Regions from separate parts of the Homo sapiens genome. Here regions 2 and 3 are each linked to region 1. The links are contacts of gene promoters, found by promoter capture Hi-C in blood cells and fetal thymus (Javierre and others, 2016). All regions are on one chromosome and are shown on one strand. Each heading gives the region's core, a stretch centred on a gene start or on the middle of the fragment in contact. The rest is flanking DNA. Distances are from core to core; before and after follow the strand shown. Region 1 holds the start of SLC9A9-AS1 (SLC9A9 antisense RNA 1). Region 2 overlaps SLC9A9 (solute carrier family 9 member A9). Region 3 has its middle 56 kb from the start of CHST2.

The links. Contacts are between HindIII fragments. The CHiCAGO score rates a contact against its expected background, and 5 or more counts as called.
Region 2: a fragment that was not itself captured here is called in contact with the fragment with the promoter of SLC9A9-AS1 in region 1 in 5 of 17 cell types (naive B cells, M2 macrophages, total B cells and 2 more); the score reaches 7.3 in naive B cells.
Region 3: a fragment that was not itself captured here is called in contact with the fragment with the promoter of SLC9A9-AS1 in region 1 in 1 of 17 cell types (M2 macrophages); the score reaches 5.6 in M2 macrophages.

The regions. Positions count from the first base shown.
Region 1 is chr3:143,340,057-143,344,545 of GRCh38, reverse strand. It overlaps SLC9A9-AS1 (SLC9A9 antisense RNA 1), which reads right to left and starts at 2,300. Exons shown (of 4, transcript NR_048544.1): 1 at 2,262-2,300; 2 at 932-1,196; 3 at 1-79. All of the region lies in intron 14 of SLC9A9 (solute carrier family 9 member A9), which reads left to right. The HindIII fragment of the contact is 6,948 bases long and covers 348-4,489 here.
Region 2 is chr3:143,610,631-143,615,119 of GRCh38, reverse strand. The region is part of intron 6 of SLC9A9 (solute carrier family 9 member A9); the gene reads left to right. Among named protein-coding and RNA genes, the nearest start is that of SLC9A9, 240 kb to the left of the region's middle. The HindIII fragment of the contact is 3,681 bases long and covers 313-3,993 here.
Region 3 is chr3:143,061,696-143,066,184 of GRCh38, reverse strand. No RefSeq gene overlaps it. Among named protein-coding and RNA genes, the nearest start is that of CHST2, 56 kb to the left of the region's middle. The HindIII fragment of the contact is 1,302 bases long and covers 1,716-3,017 here.

The DNA of each region.
Region 1 (4,489 bases), core at 1,051-3,550:
TTAAAGTTAATTTTCTCATCATAAAATTTTGTAAATGGGCATCATCATATTGGATTTTTTAAGAGATCTGTAACTTGGCCTGTAAAAGAGGTGTCTCTTAATATATTAGAAAATATTATCTTTAGTTCAAAGCAGAGAGTAATACAGAGTTGGAATGAATATTTTGCCCTATTCTCTTTTAGTCTTGACTGCTTATACACTAGCAAAGAGAAATATATTCCTCTGCAAAGCCTCCTGAGAATACAGAGATATATGCATCAGGATATTGAATTGTTTGAGAAAATAAGAGCTGGATTTTTGCAAATAAACTCTTGCACCCATATGAAAGCTCGGTAGTCATAGAAGCTTTCCCAAATAATATGCCTTCCTCTGCCAATACACAAAGTAACCTTTGTCAGTTAATAATGAGCTAATTGTTAACCTGAACAACAGATGACATCAGAGAAAACTGGCATAAATTATTCCAAAATGAACTGTAAGTGAATCTGTCCACTTAATGAATCTAATTTACATGATTCTTCTCCCTGCTGTTTCCTTTGTAAATAATATTTTATTTAAATAATTGCCAGCCCAAAAGATAGAATCATAATTATTCTGGGAGTTACATGGATTTGATAGGTAAACCACTATTTCAGCCATAACTTGCAAGCTGGTTAGACCATTGATCACTATACCTGGGTGTTAGTTTAGATAGAATATTGCTGAGGTAGTCAGCTCAGTACATTGTTGAGGTCTCAAGAGCACAAAGACTCCTTGTTGGGAAACTCCTGAGACCTAGAACCATGTTTCCAAGGCAGCAGTACTAGGTAAATATTCTAGGTGTATATTCTCTGTCATTTTTAATGTATGAATAGCAGACTAAAAGTGCTGCTTTTTATACCTAACCAGGAATCATCTTTGACACCATCTGAAGAATCAGTGGTAGACTCACCATCTTCAGAGTCCTTCAGCTTCCACTAGACCATTTAATTCATTTTGAGGGGACAAAATAGGGACTCCTGCAGTTTTCTCTCTGTAGTATTTTCTTGCTGAATCCAAGACCACATTAGGAAACCATGCCGTTGATTTTTTCGACTACTGCTTGTGGCAGTTCTTGCCTAGCTGTTGAAAGTTACTTTTTTTCCCCTCTTTACATCTTGGTAGAACATCTTATTCTGAAAATTGACTATCTCTCATCCTCCATTCCCACGCTTTGCCTAGAAAATGAAAAGATGTTTAAAAGAATGCCCTCCTGTTCTTGCCACTACAAAAAAATCAAAACATTTCCTGTCATACACTCACACACAATTAGTCTCCTTAACAATAAAGAGGAAAAGAAGTGGGAAAAAAATATCCATGACCTCTGTTGGTATTAAGTCTATAGGATACACTCAGCAGAGTCAAACCATCTAGCACAATCAAAACCATTATCTCCTCCTCTGGGTGTCTAAACTGCCCATATCAGTCATTTCAGTGAATAAAGAAATAAACAAACACTAGAAAATAGGATAGTTGTAGATTTGAGAAACAGTAAAAGTGTGGTGCTATGTATAGCAATGATATCACTTGTATTATTACAGTCATTTTTATATTACTAGCATTTGGGGATTATATCATCTAGCATTTGAGGTTGTTTTGACAATTTGTTCACATATAGATAAGAAAGAAGGAATGATCTTTTCAAAGAGAGATGCATGGTTAAAAGCGTGGCGCGTGTATATTTGCATGCACATGCACCTGCACCTGAGGTTGAACATGCACCAGATACACCATACCCCACCTGAGTGATTAAATAGATCACTCAATAGGAATTTTTCAGGTCATTTTCAGTTTTCTCAGTCTTTTGAAATAAGGTGATATTTTATGGTGCCCACAGTGGTTTGTGTCTACAAGCATTGCCTAATTTTAAAACCTTAAGTTAATCTTGACAAATCTGGCTATTGGAAGCTGTTTGGCCTTGAAGGTTATTTTATTTGTGAGTCCTGCTCTAGTTGCTACATAGATGGTGGCATTGGGTGGGGTGTTTAAAATCTAAGATAGTCCAATAAATAAACTGAAATACATCAGCAATAAGGTTTATAAGTGACCTCATGAGGAATCATCTAGCTTCTTAGATCAGGGTCTGCTGGTCATAAGGGTGGATCACTTGAGGTCAGCAGTTCAAGATCAGCCTGGCCAATATGGCAAAACCCTGTCTCTACTAAAAATACAAAAATTAGCTCGGTATGGTAGCACATGCCTTGTAATCCTAGCTACTTAGAAGGCTGAGGTAGGAGAATCACCTGAATCCAGGAAGCAGAGGTTGTAGTGAGCCAAGATGGTGCCACTGCACTCCAGCCTGGGTGACAGAGTTAGACACTGTCTCAAAAAAAAATAAGAAGCTCTAATGTTTGTTTCATTGAGAGATCCCTTCCTAAGGGACCCAACAAGCAGCTTCAATGATGGTCAGTAAAGTATGAACCTTATAACCATAGTTTCCACGTTTCCACCTTTGCCTCCTACTGAGGCGGCAGCAGAGCTGGGTCCTGACTGTGATGCGGTATTCCCATAACACAGCTCCACATCCAGAGGTAGTTTCACCCGGAATCAATGAAACTCAGCTTTCAGGGCTCTTCATCTGCATGGGTCCTTTGTAAGGGACCAGTGTTGATATTCAAAAGTGTGCATTCTTTTTATTAAGAATAGCCTCCAAAATTAGGTAACCTTCAGACTTCATGAAATCTGGATCTATCCCCGTCCATGTGAGTAAACACTACAGGGAAAATATGATAAATTAACGGTCTTATCATAATATTAAGTATTACAATAAATTATATGATTGTAAAAAATTTCAGTCCCTAGCACCTATATAACACTGTGTTCTGTATTTGCATATCGGAGTCATTTTGGTAAACAAAATTTTAATTTATTTGAACAGGGTTCGGGAAATCCTCAGGAAGTTTAACTTGCAATTTGGTATCTGAAGCTAATGTTATTCCTCTCCACATTTCTCCTCAAACATTTGGCACAGCTTTTCCTACCGTGGCAAGCAACTTGTCCCATTCTGAAAAGTGTGTTAAATTCACAGATACCCAATAATGATTATTGCAGGGTGTTCTCCAACACGTTTCATCCCTTGGTCTAAATTTACATTGTATGACTATGACCTGGGATGACTCTCTTGCCCTCCCTTGTAACTCAATACAGTTATGAATGGATGATTATTTTTATAAAATCCTACTCTGGAGTTCCCAAATTGACAGGCATTGGAGGCTCCCAAACCGACCCCATCTCAGGTATATATTCTCAAGACCAAAAGTTTATGAAAGCTAAGCCCCCTTAAGCCCCCACTACTCCAAAGGAACTGCAAAACAGCACATGAACAGTGAAAAAGATCCTAAAGAAATTCACCTCCCGATCACACCAAATTAATGCTATCCTGAGATACATCCAGCGAAAGGAATTCATCATATTCCACATAAGTGCCAAAAGACATTTGGACAGACTTTCAGCCTAAAGGATAGTGAGAGGGATAGTCTTAAAAATTTTAAAGATTTCTTTAGAACTTTCTTAGAATTAAGTGTCCTATTCAGCTTAATTGTTCTGCTACCAGCAAAAGTGATAAAGTTCAGGTGATCCTAAATGCAGAAAATATGTGGAAGTGAATAAAGCCTTCTGCACTAATGACTAGCAAATTTCAATAGATTTCCAATCTCTCTTTTTCACATTTCTTGTACCAACTCATTTATATTGTCATTCTAGAAAGAGCACATAAAAGGGTGTCTGGAGATAGATTTCTGGATGTTAAGAGAATCTTTAGTGAGTGGAGATAAGACCTGACCAGGAGACCTTTTATGAGTATATTCAGAAATGTAAACTGATGAATATGGTAAGGGCAAAAACTCAATATGATTGCATCTAAGATAGGATAAGGAGTTAATGCCCCTTTCCAAGAGAAATCTTGAAGACGGTACCAAAGTGAGCCCCAGGAAAGATCTGAACTGAAACCTCTCTAAGAGTCTCTTCAAAGCCTCCACTAGCTATAGAGTGGTTGCAATGGAGAATGATCTTGTTTTCCATTAAGAAATTCCAACTACTCATTAGTACCTGTTTTATTTTTCCCACTATAGCCTCCAGGCCTACCACTGTGCCTGGCACAAAGCAGGTGTTCTAATAAATGTCTAGTTAATGTTGAATCAGCAGGTAATCAAAATAGTCCTTCAGTTAAATGATAGTAAAATCCCGAATGTATTCCTGTGAGAGACTTGCCTTATTTCAGGCTGGTGTTGAGCATTGTCTTTTGACCTCTGCCTACTGTTTTATTTATTTATTTATTTGCTTTTCCTTTAACTTCTGTGGTCTGGTGAGGTTGTGCACAGAATCTGGAACCTAAGACTGTATTAGGCCAGTCAGTCATGAAATTATAGTTTGTTGGCTGACAACAAAGCACAGGGTGCTCAGGAGATGAAGCGTGGTATAATAGTACTGAGGGCTTCTAACATCAGTTTAATCAACCGTGATTCCAAGTCAC
Region 2 (4,489 bases), core at 904-3,403, 270 kb before region 1:
TGAGGCAAGTTGGCTGACTTGTATATGTTGTTCATGGGCTGCTGCCAGCAGCACCAAGCAGGCATCACTGTGGGTAGCACACCCCTGGAGAAGCCATGCTGTCTCCCTGTCCCACCCCCAGTGTCCATGAGGGCCTATACCAAGAACCCCGTTTCTTCTTATTTGCAAGAGGACCAGTGCATTCTGAAGGACTCTGAAGAACTCTGAACATGACAGTTATCACCTGTCATAATTTCAATACATGGACTTAAGCTTTCATAACCTTTTCTTAAATTTCAAATTTCTGGGCTCATGGCTATCTTTTGAAAAGCTTAGTCAGATAATATCTCAGAAAACACCGAGTACTCCACCTGATACATAAAAGGTTACCATAAATGTGGAATCTGAATTGTTCATTCGATTCCCCATCATGGGAGTGGAAAGTTTCTGATTTCCTAACTGTGGTTTATATCTGTCTCACACTAATAGAGAGATAAAAAACCTTATATCATCTTGGATCCCTATTGAATACCATGAGAGTAAAGACATGATCCAATTATAGCACATTCAGAGGGCAATTTCTCCTCTTTTTATTAGGCAGTCAGTAAGATGTACTCTATTGTCTGTTGGAGAACTATGAATTAAAGTGCCTGGAATCTGAAGAGAGCTCTGTACAGCCTATTTTCCCCCAAGCCGGACATATCCTTGAATATGCTTTGTGGCTCAGTATGAAAGAGAGGCAGAAATGGTTGCAAGCCTGATCAAATCAAGGCACTGATCAAAGGACTAAATATACAGCTTGCCAAATGATGCATAGCAAGGGTGAGAGGGAGAAAAAGGATCAAAAATTGATACAGGCATAGCAAAAATGAGTACACAACCTGTGTAGAGAGCTAACCAGAAACAGGAACATGAAATTGAGCCTAGGAAATGCTAGAAATACCTGTCTTAACCCTCAGAGATGGTACCCTTATTGCCTGCCTTGGTGAAGTCTCCCAGAGGAAACTAAGGAAGGACTAAGTTTCATTCAGATGATGTGTTTCTGCTGTGGAGCTGAGGGACAACTAAAAGCACAGCAGAGGTAACATAAAGAATCTGTAGGAAAGAAATTATAACATTTGAATAGAAGAGAGATACACTATGTTGTTGGATAGGAAAGTTCAATATTAAAAGTGCTAATTTTCCCAAAATTAATTTTAAAATGTAATTCAATTCCCATAAGAATAATAGAGCTATTTTTTTCTAGAATGGACAACATTATTTTAATTTCATATGAAAGAATAAATGAGTTACAATAAGGTCTAAAGCAATTTAGCAGTAGAAAGAATAATGGAATAAAAAATTATAATTATTGCAATGTGGTATGAGGATAGGAATGGAGAGGTCAAATGAATAGAATAGGACATTCAGAAAAAAAAAAAGAGAGGCATGTCTGTGGACACTTTTGCACATGTACTCCGTGTTTAAAAGTGGCATTATAATTCAGTGAGAAGAGAGGAAAGAGATGAAGTTGAGCCATTTAGCTGTCCAATTATAAAAAAACAAAAGAAAGTTATAATTCTACCATCAGACCTTACATGAAAACAAATTCCAGATTATTTTTAAAATGTAAGAAATACCAGACTTACTACTAGTTAATACTACCTGGTAAGCACTTAACATACCTTTCTGGAAGATTTTGTGGTCATAAAACTGGATTGCAAAATTTGAGAAGTTTCAACATATTCTGGAGATTCTGGTTGCCAGAGCTTTAAACATATAAAAGTCACAGACTGTTTCACAACAGTCTTAATTTTCTTTTCAGTAAGCTAACATCTATAGTTGCTAAAAAATTAAACCACTTGCTATAGATATTTGAAATTCCTTTTTCACATTTTTGTTTAATTCTAAGATGCTTTTTGAAAAGAAAGAAAGGGAGAAAAACAGAGCACACCTCAGACCTCTTTGAGTTAAAGATTAATCATGCAATTTAAACCATAGCCCAGCATAAAGATGGAAAGGTAATTGATCATATTAAAAGCAGTTTGCCATAGAAAAATGTTTTGTATCTTTCCAGTACTTCCTGGAGTCAAAGAATCAAACTGAGAAGAAAATACAAGCAGTATGTTATTGGGAGGCTATTACAATCAGCACAGCTGTTTCCAAATTGTTTGTCACATATTTCAGCCCCTGCTGTGGCCTTTTTTTAATATATATCTTTCTACATTAGGGGAAAAAATCCATATCAGTCCAATTTAGTGTTCTTAAAGTGCTTCAGGTTTATAAGATGCTTCTTTAAGCAAGTTGCTATTGAGATAATTCTTTTTGTTTATGTGTAATATTCAAGTTGAAATCACAGTATTCACCTCTATCTGGCAGGCTGGAACATTCTGGTGAGAGATGTCACAAAATTTGCCCTTAGGGATGTATGAAAATGTAGCTTGGTGTGAATTCAACTGGGAATTCCCATACCTGTCATTTCAAATCGGCTCAGACTAGTTGCAGGTATTTTGGTCTGTTTTGCTATAAATAAAGGGATACTATGAAATGAAAATACACATAGTTCTGTTGGAGAAACTTGAAATCACTTCAGAGAAGCAATTACTTACCTCTGCTTTCGATCAGGCATCCATGTTGGTGGTCTGGCATCCGAATACCCAGACGCCTCTTGGAAACATGTTGGAGCACAGGGGTACCACCCTGAAGATCAATGTGAGCTCAAGTCACACCAGCTCTTATTCACTTAGGGTTATCCCACAAGTGAGAGAGAGACTGTCTGAGGACACTAGGATTGCATGGAGTTTGGTTCTTCCTCCCAGACAATATTCCGTTTAAATGGGTTGCACTCATGAAAGTTCATGTTGGTTCAGGGTTTGAGACTTTGAAAGAAAAAGGTTGAAAATGCAAAGTTTAACTGCTATGCTGCTGTAGTGACATCTATTTCTCTTCAAACTTGACACTGACAATGGCAATCACTGTCTGTGCAGGTGAATAGGGTCAACGCCTCTCTGTAGAGACCCACCCTCTATAGGGGCAAGCTAAGAGGCTATCTTGGCTAAGTCTAGTACTCACTATCCATTCTTTAAGATGTTTCTGACATTGATGACTGACCCAAGGCTTTAACTTCAAAGTTTCCTAGGCCAGGCATGGTGGCTTATGTCTGTAATCCCAACACTTTGGCTTGAGACATTTGAACCCAGGAATTTGAGACTAGCCTGGGCAACATAGTGAGACCCTATCTCTAAATATTTTTTTTCTTAATTAGCCAGGTATGGTGGTGTGTTCCTGTAGTCCTAGCTATTCAGGAGGCTGAGACAAGAAGATTACTTAGACCCAGGAGGTCGGGACTGGAGTGAGCCATGATCGGATCACTGCACTCCAACTTGAGTGACAGAGTGAGACCCTGTCTCAAAAATAAGGGGGTTCTTTCCTTTAATCTCCAGTTACTTTGTATAACATTATTATACTTGATTTCTTGACCTTCCATCCAAGATCCACTCTGAGTCTACCTATTATTTTTATTCAGGCTCCCAGGCTGTAATTAAGACATATTTTATTGTCTTCTAGTTTTCAGTGCTGTTTTCAGAAATCTACTGCTGTATGATTTTTATCACTGCATTTGTGATTTATCTTTTGTCTCTCAAGAAATCATTTAGACTCTTATCTTTATTTTATATTGAAATATCACAATAATGTGTCTGGTATAATGCTCGTTTCTACTCATCATGTTTCATGTTTGGGCCCTTCAATTTAGAAATTCATATCTTGTAATGTGGAAAATTTTCTCATGCCATTCCTTTGATAATTTCATCTTTTCTCTCTTCTCTTTCTTATGGAACCTATTTAGTAAAAATATTGGACCAACTGATGTGATCTCATCTTTTCTCTTCTGCTTTTCAATTCTTTATATCACTCACTCAAACATCTTTTTATCTATATTCTATCAATATAAATATTTTGTGGAAGATTTCCCCAACTTTATGTTCCAATTTTGAAATTTTCATTTCAATCCTTGTATTTTTATTTCTAAAAGCTTTTTTGTTTTTCTGAAATTTTTTTCTAGCCTTCTATGCCCTTACATGAATGCAATATCTTCTCTTGCCTCTGAAAATATTGATAATAGTTTTTGGAAGTTTTTTTTGGCACCTTAAATTGTGTTTGCTTTCTGCAATTTTTTTTTCGGTCCTTTTGATTCTGTTTTTCCTCACTTCTGTAGAAAGCCCAGACTGAGTAACCGTATTTAAGAGGGAGGTGAAAAAGAAAGAGGGACTGGAGCAGGGGCAAGTTCTAAGCTCATCAACTGGTGAGCCTCACTGTAGGATAACTAAGAAATCTGGCCTTTATTTGAAGGCACCTCTAAATCTCATTATCTGTGAACCAGTCTATTTCTCCAGATAATTTCTCTCATAGGAGGTTTAAGTTGAATGCCAACATTCTGGGAGCCCTGTGTGGAAAGGGGTCTGGGGTTCTCACAGTTCGTTCTATGGATTTCACTTCACCAACCTGTAGTCAGGGCTGCATCCCACTCCTG
Region 3 (4,489 bases), core at 1,117-3,616, 280 kb after region 1:
TCAAGGTTCTGAGAAGCACTGCTATAAAAAAGCCAATTTAGCCCAGGATTTCCCAATTTAGTTTATCACACAACTCCTTTTTCCAAGTAACATCTATTAACACTCTACAGTGCAGTAGGTAGTTGTGCCAGTGACTACAGAAGCATTCTTTAATGCTTTAACGCTTCTGTAGTCAACACAATTTATAATTTCCTCCTATACCAGCCTAAGAGCAACAGGAGTGCTATGTCCTGATCATCTACTGGTTTGATTTCTGTATAACAGCACTGAAGTGAAGCTAATCTTAAGGTGAATACAACCTCTGTTGCAGGGAAAGGAATCACAAGATCCAAGGAAATGAGGAGTTAAATTATTTATTAGAGAGCTGCTATGTGCTTGGGGCATGCTAGATACTGTATTTATATAATCCCATTTAATCTTCCCAGCCAAGAACCTCCTAACTCATTTCCCTGTTTCTCTTGTCCTTCTCCCATTCTGTCTCTGCACAGCAGCTGAAGTGTCTTTTGAAACTACATCAGGTCACTCACTCCCTTGCTTAAACCTGTCAAGCCCTACCTAACCTCATCTCATACCACACCATCCTTTCCTCACTGCACTTGAACTCCACTGACTGCTTTCCATTTCTCAACACGCCAACATGGTCTCCCTCTAAACATTCTAACTTCCAGCACCTTCGGCCTGGAACACTTGGTGCTCTATCTTCACACAGCCAGCTCTACCTTCTTACTCAACCTCACCACCAGTGTTTCTCCTTGACTACCCTATCTAAGAAAGGTACCCCTCCCTCACTTTCTATCCTACTACCCTGTTTTTCAGTACATTTTACCATCTGAAATTATCTTGTTCAAATTTTTGTCTGATTCCTCCCATTTGTATGTAAGTCCCAAGACATAAGGACCTTGTCTGTTCTATTCATCACTGTATTTCCCCAGTGCCTGTGCATAGTAGATGCTCAACTTGTTGAAGAATCCTGTAAAATAGATGGCATGCTCACGCTGCAAATGAGGAAATGGGCTCAAAAGGCCTTGGTTAAACATCGTGACTGAGACCACACAGCTGGGAAGTGATTGCCTTGCAATGGTTGAAGGCTGAAGGGAGTCTTTGGATCTCTGGAGTCCAGGTATTTTGTTCTATGGTTGGGCAAGTCCCGCTGGGCCACGCAAAACAAAAAGCCAGGTTTTCAAAGAGGCACTCTGCTTTTGTGAACTTTGTCTTTTCAAGCTCTGTATGAGCTCATCTAGATTCATTAAAGATGATCAAGGTCCAAAATTAATCTACGGAAATCACATTCCACAAAAAATAACCGAAGAACTCAAAGATCCTGAGGTTTGGCAACTAGATTTATTTACATATAAGATTATGAAAGTAATTATATCTAATATTTCATCTCTTTGCCCCAGTCTTTCTTTTTGCATTGGGCAGTGTTTCAGTCAAACGTAAGAATCTGTACAAATTTAACAGAGAGAAAATACCACCTTACCCAAGACCAGGCAGCTGATCACGTTTACCTTGTCTCCAACACTCTGCAAGGAAAGAACTAAACGTTGCAGAGAAAGTGGAGAATAAATGCATTGCAAGGCAATCAGAAGAGGCAAGTAGGCCAGGGCAAGTCCTCTATTTTCTTCAAAAGTTTATTACATCCTCCTCTATTTTCATCAAAACGGTCTGTTTCACCAGAGGTAAACCATGTTCCATACAGTCATAAGTCATAAGCTTTGCAAGGCCCTCAAGGGTCCTTGGATGTCCAGTGGGTGCTATGCAAGGACATATCAAGTGGGTGCTATGCAAGGACTCTTGACAAAGGGCCCAAGTGTGGAATAAAGAAGGGTATGTATGAGTACACTTGGGCACTAAAATAGCTTGAAGGCTTTTTCCCTATAATCTAAGTTATATATGGACATGTGAGATACAAGGAAAGCTACGAAGTGGTGATTGTGTAGCTAATATTTTGAATTTCACTATGGCACTTGAAGAGAATCACTCACTGGGAGGACAATATCAGTATATATGCTGATTGTTCACCATGAAGAATATTTTAAGATAAACTATTCTAGAAATACACTAAACTCACCTAGACAGTTGAGTTCTGCAACTTATGAATGGCATTATAGGCTCTGAAATATACAGTGGACAGTAATTCTTTACCTTAACACCAAACTGTTCTCTCATTCTTCATACATTATTAGTCATGGTTTTATTACATAATAGGCAAGATAAATAATACTTTTATTACAAAATACATGCAAATAAAGAATATTCTGAGTTTTTACAAGTTCCAGGTCATGTCAGTCATGAGAACAAACAAGCACAAAGATCAGTCCCTGCTTAAAGACTTTCTCTAACCTACCTAATATTTAAGGCAAATTACACATGCTTTCAGGGCAATCAATTCAGAATTAAAACAGTATTTTTAGATGTAAATGTCTCTTGAGAAATACTTGATATTTTTGCTTTGTGGAACTTACACATATATAGTATTTGGCACAGAATTAGACATGCTACGTATTTTTCTGGGGAGAACACATTCTTCAGATAAGATGTATCCAAAGTTGAGGATAAGCATCCTATGAAATATGTAAGCTATACATAATATGTAACTTTGAAATTTACAGTTTAAGTTCATGTTAGCTAAATGTTATTGTGATTAGAAAATATAAAATAGCTACATAGAATGTTTTTTGGCTTTTGATACCTTTCTACATCCTGTGAGAGAGACTGCTTACGTTTCTAGAAGGATATGACAGATCCTTTATTAAAATGTTAGCACGGCCAAAAGCCATCTGAAAAGCATTTTTCTAGAAGTTTTTAATAAACCCCTCACATCCAGTAGCTATTGCACAGTGCAATAAAACAAAATATGCTGAAACAAAAACAATTAGGTCATTTTGCATTGCTCTAAAGAAATACCCAAGGCTGGGCAAATTATAAACAAAGAGGTTTATTTTGGTTCACGGTTTTGCATGCTGTATGGGAAGCATGGTGCTGACATCTGCTTCTGGTGAGGGCCTCAGGAAGCTTAGTCATGGTGGAAGGTAAAGGGAGAACAGGCATATTGCATGGGAACAGCAGGAACAAGAGAGATGGGGGAGGTGCTACGCTCCCCCCAGATCTCATGTGAACTACCACACCAAGCCAATCATGAGGGATCTGCCTCAATGATCCAAACACCTCCCACCAGGCCCCACCTCCAACACTGGGAATATTACATTTCAACATGAGATTTGGAGGGAATAAACATCGAAACCATATCAATCATCTAATACCACCCTCATGTAATAAGAATATTTAGTGGCCTAGGTAGCCAAACTATATAGCAAGGTGCTTATTCTTTCCAAAGACAATGTTTCAGCTATTTGGAGGACGAAAGAGTATTTCTAATCAAAGTTGTGCTCTTCCAGATTTACATTTGTGCAGTTGTGAGAACTCCAAAGAACTTGATGTGTCCTGAGGACGTTACTACAAAGCGGTTAATTTCTGAATTGAATTTAAACTGTAATTTCCTTTCCAAATTCCGTATGGTTTGAACTCTACTCTAAAAGTAATTTTAGGGTACATTTCTTATTCTTGAATAATCTGAAAATACAAACTGTAACTTGCAAACATACACAAAACACAGGAGTTCAGTTGTACTCATAATACTAGCCCTCTTCTTAATTCTTACAGGATTGTTTTCTGTCCACCCATTTTGTGAAAACTGCATACTGCTGCTCTGCTCTGATAATTGTACAGGTTTTTCTTTTACTTTGAACTTTGACAAAGAATCCAGTGCTTCATCACACTTTATACTATTCTCCAGGCTTTTTCCACATATCCCCTATTTCAGCTGTTTACATTTAGATTTTCCTTTATGGGATTCCTCCTTCCAGGAACTTTGGTTAGGGGAATTCACAATAATAAATGACAACTAATAAAAAGTATATTTTAAAATCTATTTAATAGTTTTTCTCATAGGAGATCAAGAATTAAATGTCATCTAAAACACTGGGAAAGCAGATTATGAAGTGGTATTCCATATGCAATAAATATGCCAACATATCACCAACTTTATTTATAAAATCTGTTAACTGAATACAAATCAAGTATAAGGAAATCTTGTAAAGGTATCAGTGCTATGGAATTATACTGTTATTCTTTATCTTGTTTTAGTTATAAGATGTTCCCACCATTAGTTCTCAGGAATAATGAATATTTATCTAAGCACCACTGTATGACAACCCTGTGCCAGTGATATACATGTGATTTCATCCTTTCAATAACCATTCAAGGTTAATATCCCCTCCTTCTAGGTGATAAAAGGGAATAGCTGATACACAAATCCAAATATGACTTCACGGCCCAGGCCTTTCCTCTTCCTTCACCATTGTGCCATGCCACATCTCGTTTGAAAATCAAAAGTAAGTTATTTATTCTAAAACAGTTCGACACACTATGTTTCCTAAGGATGAGAGAAAATAACTTGAAAAAAAATTTAAAAAGCTATTTTTCCTTT